2 separate regions of the Homo sapiens genome follow, and region 2 is linked to region 1. Evidence: promoter capture Hi-C in human tissues and cell types (Jung and others, 2019). All regions are on one chromosome and are shown on one strand. The core of a region is centred on a gene start or on the middle of the fragment in contact, and the rest is flanking DNA. Distances in the headings are between cores, read along the strand shown. Region 1 has its middle 11 kb from the start of TRR-CCT1-1. Region 2 holds the start of FADS6 (fatty acid desaturase 6).

Region 1 (3,775 bases), core at 432-2,931:
AGCTAGACAGAGTGCTGATTGATGTGTTTACAATCCTTAGGTAGACAGAAAAGTTACCCAAGTCCCCACCCGACCCAGAAGCCCAGTCGGCTTCACCTCTCCTAAGGAGATGGTAATTGTGCTGTAGAGGTCTATGGCAGCACTGCCTGCTGAAGTGGGGGACAATTGTTGCACGTTTGTAAGGGCATGGCTGTGCCTTGGTTTGTTGAGGGGCTCGAGGCAGGCCTCTCTTCCCGTTTCCTGAAAGAGGTTGTCCATCCTTGTTAAATTTAGAATGACACTGACTTGCCCAGTGTTTGCTTTTCTTACACTGGAGACATATACCGGGACTTTTCTGTTGACTGATGGTAGTAATGTTTGCCTTTTGATTTCCTTTTCTACATTCCTTTCTTGGGTGTCCAAATTGACCACAATTAAAGCAAGGGCCTGAGAAATGGGGTATATTCTTTCCTACTCTTAATCCAGCCATAGCCTGAGCTAAAAGAGTTGCCTTATGTAAGTTACCTCCAATGCCATCGCAATCCTTAATATATTTAGCTAAATGAGCCGTCCCTCTCAGGGGTCTAATAGCAGTTTGACACTGCACTAGCATTTTCGTATGCAGGAAGCTGTATTACAACATCCTGAGCCGTTTTATTAGTAATGGCTTTATACACAGCCTCTTGGAGCTGAGCAATAAAATCAATATATGGTTCTTTAGGTCCTTGACGGATAGAACTGACAGAAGGATGTTTTTCGCCTGTAACATTTATCCTTTCCCATGCCCATAAGCACACAAAGCGCAGCTGAACAATGGCAGCATCCTCCATTACTGCTTGATTTCTCTAATCAACCCCAGTTAGGGCCAACTCCCATTAACTGTTCAAAGGAAACAGGCACAGGTGGCTGTGCTTGTATGTTTTCCCCTGCCTGAGTTTGAGCTTCATCAGCCCACCAGGTTTTAAACTGCAAATACTGAGATAGGGTGAGAACAGATTTTGTCAAAGTATCCCAGCCACATGGTATTAATCTATTATCAAGAGCCATATTTTTTAATAGAGTTTGCACAAAAGGAGAGTTCGGTCCGTATTGACTAATGGCTTGCTTAAATTCCTTTAGTAACTTAAAAGGAAAAGTGGCCAATTAGCTGTATTCTGTCTTCTCTGCTGGATGATAGTAACAGGAAATTGCCATGCTTCAAGGTCTCCCTCGGCTCTAGCTTTATGAATAGAATTTTCTATAGCATCACCAATTGCTCCAGGTTTTAATATTGCAACTATAGGAGTAGTAAGTTTTTCAGCTAATTCATCTTCTCACCCATTAAGAGGAGAGAGAGGAGGTGGCCATTCACTTAATTTAGCAGGGGGCGCCGACGGGCTAGTAAAACATACTTTTTTTAGTTTTCCTTTCTTTAATCTCCTCCGGTAGCTGTTCCTCACACTCAGAATCTGAAGTTAGTTTTTTACACTCATCCTCCTCTTCCTCATCTCAATCTGCCTCATCATCTGTTTGAAATGGCTCAAGAGCTGCCTTTATTAGCGCCCACATGACCAAATAGAAACTGGAATATCTGCTCCCTCTTTATACGCCTTTTAAAAATCTCTGCCGATTCTCTCCCATTCATCCAACTCCATAGTCGCTTGTTCCGGAAGCCATGGGCAAAACTGCTTTACTGTACTAAAGAGTGATAACAAATTCTGAGTACTAACTTTCACTCCCCCTCTTCATAATAAATGCCAACAAATTCTGAGTACTTTCACTCCCCCTCTTCGTAATAAATGCCTTAAGAAATTTAAATAAGGCCGGGCGCGGTGGCTCACACCTGTAATCCCAGCACTTTGGGAGGCCGAGGCGGGCGGATCACGAGGTCAGGAGATCGAGACCGTCCTGGCTAACACGGTGAAACCTCGTCTCTACTAAAAAAAAAAAATACAAAAAATTAGCCGGGCGCGGTGGCGGGTGCCTGTAGTCCCAGCTACTCGGGAGGCTGAGGCAGGAGAATGGCCTGAACCCAGGAGGCAGAGCTTGCAGTGAGCCGAGATCGCGCCGCTGCACTCCAGCCTGGGCGACAGAGCAAGACTCCTCTCAAAAAAAAAAAAATAATAAAATAAATTTAAATAAGCAAAATGTCTTTCACTTTATCCCATTGTTACCCTGGTTCTTCCGAGCGCTCAGCTTTCCTGCCGAGCTTCTTTTAGACGCCTTTGGGTGTCCTTTGACGATGTGTTCTCCGCTTTCACACGCTCTAGCGTTCCTTCACCAGGGTCTTTGTCACCCCACGTTGGGCAGCCAGGAATGTTGAGGTGATCAGACCCAACACCAGGTCATGGGGGCAACAAAGTCCGGCGGAGTCAAAGGAATTAGAAAAAGACAGTTTGAGAGAGAAAGTAGCACCAGGAAGCCATCGCCAGTGTTGAGGCTGTGAAGACCCCCAGCTCTGGGAGCCCACGGTATTTATTGGTGCTCAAAGAAACAGGTGGTGAGGATGTGGGGGTTGAAAAGAAAGTGTATCAAGTGAAGGAGAAACATACGGCTGCTTGAGAGAATGGGAGTGCTAGAAGCAAGGAGCCAGCAAGTCTAGCAGACATGCAAGCCCTGCCTCAGCTTCTCTCCCAACACTCAGCTTTTCTCCCAACGCTCAGCTTTTCTCCCAACAGCTTTCTGTTACCCACATCTCTTAAAACCTTTGCCGGGTGCAGTGGCTCACGCCTGTGATACCAGCACTTTGGGAGGCCGAAGTGGGCGGATCACCTGAGGTCAGGAGTTCAAGAGCAGCCCAGCCAACATGGTGAAACCCCATCTCTACAAAAATACAAAAATTAGCTGTGCATGGTGGCATGCACCTGTAACCCCAGCTACTGGGGAAGCTGAGGCAGGAGAATCGCTTTAACCTGGGCGAAGGAGGTTGCAGTGAGCCAAGATCACGCTATTGCACTCCAGCCTGGATGGCAGAGTGAGACTCCATCTCAAAAATAAAAGAACCTAAACTCCTTAACTTGAATTCAAGGCTCTCCACATCAAGCCGGTCTCTCTCTGGGTTCACCTCCCGCTGCAATGGTGGATCACCCTGCACGAATCCACCATTCAGTGCCTTTGCCTTCTTTGTCACCCCCTCCACCTCAGCCTCTTTTGTCTCTTGTGTTCATTGTTCCCTTCAAATGGCATGTCCGCCTCCCGTCTACTGATGAAAGTCCCATGCCTTTTCCATAGCCCGGCTCAAATGCCCACTTACCTGTCTCAGCCCTCCTACCTGGTTGTGTGTGTAGTTTCTTTTTGTTTTGTTTTTGAGACGGAGTCTGGCTCTGTTGCCCAGGCTGGAGTGCAGTGGTGTGATTTTGGCTTACTGCAACGTCACCCTCCTGGGTTCAAGCAATTCTCCTGCCTCGGCCCGAGTAGCTGGGATTACAGGTGCCCACCACCTATTTTAGTAGAGATAGGGTTTCACCACGTTGGCCAGGCTGGTCACCTCAGCCTCCCAAAGTGCTGGGATTACAGGTGTGAGCCACCACGCCCGGTGGTTTTTTTTTTTTTTTGAGACACGGTCTTGCTCTGTCACTCAGGCTGCAGTGGTGCAATTATGGTTCACTGCAACCTTGAACTCCTGGGGGGCTCAAGTGATCCTCCTGCCTCAGCCTCCCAAGTTGCTGGGACTATGGACATGTATCACCACACCTGGCTAATTTTTGTAGTTCTTGTAGAGATGAGATCTTGCTATGTTGCTCAGGCTGGTTTTGACCTCCTGACCTCGTGTGATCCTCCTGCCTTGGCTTCCAAAGTGTTTGGATTACAGGCGTGA
Region 2 (3,484 bases), core at 199-2,698, 130 kb after region 1:
CTTAGAATACTGAGCTGGTAAATAAATCTTATTCTTTGATAAAGAATTAAAGGAATAAGCTCATACGAATTCATGATTAGCCAGGCTTAGTGGTCCCCGTGTGTGCCTGTAGTCCCAAGCTACTCAGGAGGCTGAGGGGGAGGATCACTTGAGCCTAGGAAATCGAGGCTGCAGTGAGCTGTGATTGTGCCACTGCACTCCAGCCTGAGTGATAGAGCGAGACCCTGTTTCTAAACAAAGAGAGAAAAAAAAGAATTCCTGAAGGAAAACACCAGGAAGGAGTCAAAAGGAATCAATGTCATTAGGATCCCTGACTGTCTCTCCCTTACCCCACCCACCCAACTTCTCTTTCCTAGGGGTCTCCTGCTAAAGATGCCACTGTCCTCACCATACCAGATCCCTTAAGTCATGAAACTGGGAGTAAGTAAAACAAAAAAGAAAAGAGAAAGGGTATTCAGAAGCAGGGAAGAGGAGTTTGTAGAGGACAGAGGCTTATCCCCTGAGGACCAAGGCCATCTCCAGCAGTGCGGGGTGGGGGCCTGGGCTGATGGGAAGGGGATGTGACAGGTGTGGCTCCCACATCTCAGAGGGCTTGGCTGAGGCCCTGGCCCTGGGTTCAGGCCTGGGCGCTCTTGAGGGAGTGGAATGGCAGCGGGACCCGGCTGGTCTGCCTGCCCACCCAGAATGATGACCTCCGGATGTGTATTCCCTGTAGCTACCCGTCTCACCCAAAACATTATTGGGCTGAAGAGCCAGCTCCCCTGGGTCACCTCTGCTGAAGCCATACTCAGAGGGGACCTCTCACTCCTTGACCCACGGGGAGGGGGAGTGGGGAGTCCTTGAACTTTCTGCCCTAGGAATTCCCAGATGTTTCTGTGCCAAGCATTGCCCTAGGTACTGAAGACAGAGCTTGGGCAAAACGAGGACGTCTCTACGGCACTGAGGGTCCGTCTGTTGGCAGAGACAGACGACAGCATGTGTCATGTGTGTCACGTACGAGGGGAGCTGCTCAGTGCCACTACGAATAGTCAGGGTCGAGGGAAGAGAATGCTCGGACAGATCTCAGGGACCGAGGGAACTCAGGGAGTTATTTGAGGTCGGAGGTCAGGGAAGGCCCTCGGGGCGGGGCGGGGGTGGGGGGTGTCTCCACTGGGGTCTCCGTGCCCCTGACGCCTCCGTCCCTACTACCTGGGCTGGGTCTCACCGCAGGGTCGCCTCCCCGCCTAGCCACTCTCAGCTCATCGGCCTGGCTCCTCCCTCCGCGGCGGTTCTGATGCCGCCTGCCAGGGTCGCGCGCCTGAGCCGGGCCTGGGTCGCCAGCGCCCGCAGCAGAGGAGCCAGGGTGTCTCGCACCTTGACCCCGGGGGCGGGTGTCCCCAGGCGGCGCGTGACTCCGCCCCGGCCCGCCCCGCCTCGCCTGCACCGCAGACACACGCCCCAGTCCTCCAGTCCTCCGTGCGCGTCGGGCCCGAGCCCACAGAGTCCATGGAACCCACGGAGCCGATGGAACCTACGGAGCCCATGGAACCTACGGAGCCCATGGAACCTACGGAGCCCATGGAACCTACGGAGCCCATGGAACCGGCGCGGAGCGCGCACCGTGGGGGCGAGGCGCTGCTGCGGGAGCTGGAGGTGCTGGTGCAGGACGTGGTGAGGACGAGCTCCTGGTGGGAGCGCCACGGCGTGGACTGCGCCATCCTCGCGCTCAGCCTCTTCGCCTTGCCGGCAGGTGAGGAACGCGGGGACCCGGCGTCCCGGCCGGGCTGCGGGTGGGGGCGGGGTGCGGCGGAGGTGGCGGCGCGGGGTCTGCAACAGCAGCCGTGGGAGTGCAGCCTGCGGAGTGGACTGGCGGCGGCAGGGAGGCGGAGGTGGTCGGGGCCCCGCACCCAAGGATGGAGGGTCACACCCCGAACCTGAGAGTCTGGACTGGGGTGTTCTGCCCTGTGTACCCTAGGAGGGGGCGCAGGAGGGTGGTGGAAGGGAAAGTTGAGAGGAGCGGGGGAGTGGCCGGGAGTGATGAGGTGCCCCCCCACCCCCGGGAAGGGAGACGGTGTTCTTTGGGGACCTAGGTGAGTGGGGAGGGGGTGGGAGTTTCCCCTGGACCCTTCCTGGTCTGGAACACCCATGGTACCTGAGGCCCCAACATTGCTTTGGCTGGGGGCCCAGGACCACGCACTGGAGAGTCAGGACCAGGCACGGGAGAGTCAGGACCGCTGGAGGGGCAGTCCTGGTTCCCCTCAGGCCACAGTGGGACCTGCCTCACTCCGGCCAGTGGCAGCCCCCAGAGCCTAGCCCACTTTAGCCTGGGCTCCCAGGGTAAGGGTTGAGGTATTTGGGCCCAGATCACCCAGAGCTAGAGAAAGACCCGTCTTCTTCCTCCTCTCCACGCAGGCTTCCTGTGCCTGCGCTGGGAGAATGCCCTGGTCTTTGCATCCGGCATCACCATCTTGGGTGTGTGCCACTACACACTCACTGTCAAGGGCAGCCACCTGGCCACTCATGGGGCCCTCACCGAGTCCAAACGCTGGAGCAAGATCTGGCTGCTTTTCTTTGTGGAGGTGAGCCTGGGAGAAGGAGGATGCAGGCAGCTGCTGGGACCGTGTGGCAGCCTCATTCTTCTGTTCGAGCATGCGGGTGTGTCCAGCTGTGCATGTGCCCACGGGGGCAGGCCGCTGCAGCTGATGGTATGCCGGTCCACTGGTGCAGTATGCACTACAGCGTGTCTGAGGACTTCTCCAAGCCCTTGAGCGGGTCTTTGCACCCCATGGGTAGAGAGTTGTAGGATGAGTATGCCGCTGTCTTGGCCCACAGTTACAACCAGTGGGGCCTCCAGATTTTGCAGTCAGGGTTTAAAATGTGACCCACAGACAGAAAGGGAGGGGGAGGAGGGGCCCAGTGTCCACAAGGGGCAGCGTCCTTACTCCGGATGATGCTCCTCTGATGCCTGGCCATGGCCTAGCCTTCCTGAGAAGCCCCCTGCTCCCCGGGGTCAGCTCCAGGAAGTACCCACCTCACCTGACCCTTGCCCTCCCTTCTTCCACCCCTTCCCAGTTCGACCTTGGCCTTCTTACCTTCGGGCACGCCCAGGAAGGCAAAAGTTTCGACCAGCTTGTCTTTCTCTCTTGACTGGTCTCCAGGCCTCCCCAGTTCCTCTGCTGAACTTGCTCCCTCCTCCTTTCCAGGGGGACCGTCGCCTGGTCACCCAGGTGATGGTTCCCCTAAATAAATGAATGGCCACACCTTATGAATAAATAGGAAAGCTGGGACCAGAAACAGTTCTTTTCTGGAAGGACTGGTCGTTGTGACCAATTAACTCAATTATTAAGTTTTTATAAAGTTATATAACTTTATATAACTGTCTACACACACATATATCATCACTATCCACTCAGCTGAGTGGATGAAGCATTTCTCACCTAGCACTATCCCCTGCTTCTTCCCCTCCCCTGCCCCTCTCACCAGCACACACATCAAAGTGCTGAAG

Evidence for each region. Contacts are between HindIII fragments. The study calls those that stand out against the background at their distance.
Region 2: a contact is called between the fragment with the promoter of FADS6 here and a fragment that was not itself captured in region 1, in 1 of the 25 tissues and cell types used here (thymus).

What each region holds. Positions count from the first base shown.
Region 1 is chr17:75,021,414-75,025,188 of GRCh38, reverse strand. No RefSeq gene overlaps it. Among named protein-coding and RNA genes, the nearest start is that of TRR-CCT1-1, 11 kb to the left of the region's middle. The HindIII fragment of the contact is 7,781 bases long and covers 1-3,775 here.
Region 2 is chr17:74,891,597-74,895,080 of GRCh38, reverse strand. It overlaps FADS6 (fatty acid desaturase 6), which reads left to right and starts at 1,448. Exons shown (of 6, transcript NM_178128.6): 1 at 1,448-1,729; 2 at 2,392-2,558. The coding sequence starts at 1,486. The HindIII fragment of the contact is 12,637 bases long and covers 1-3,484 here.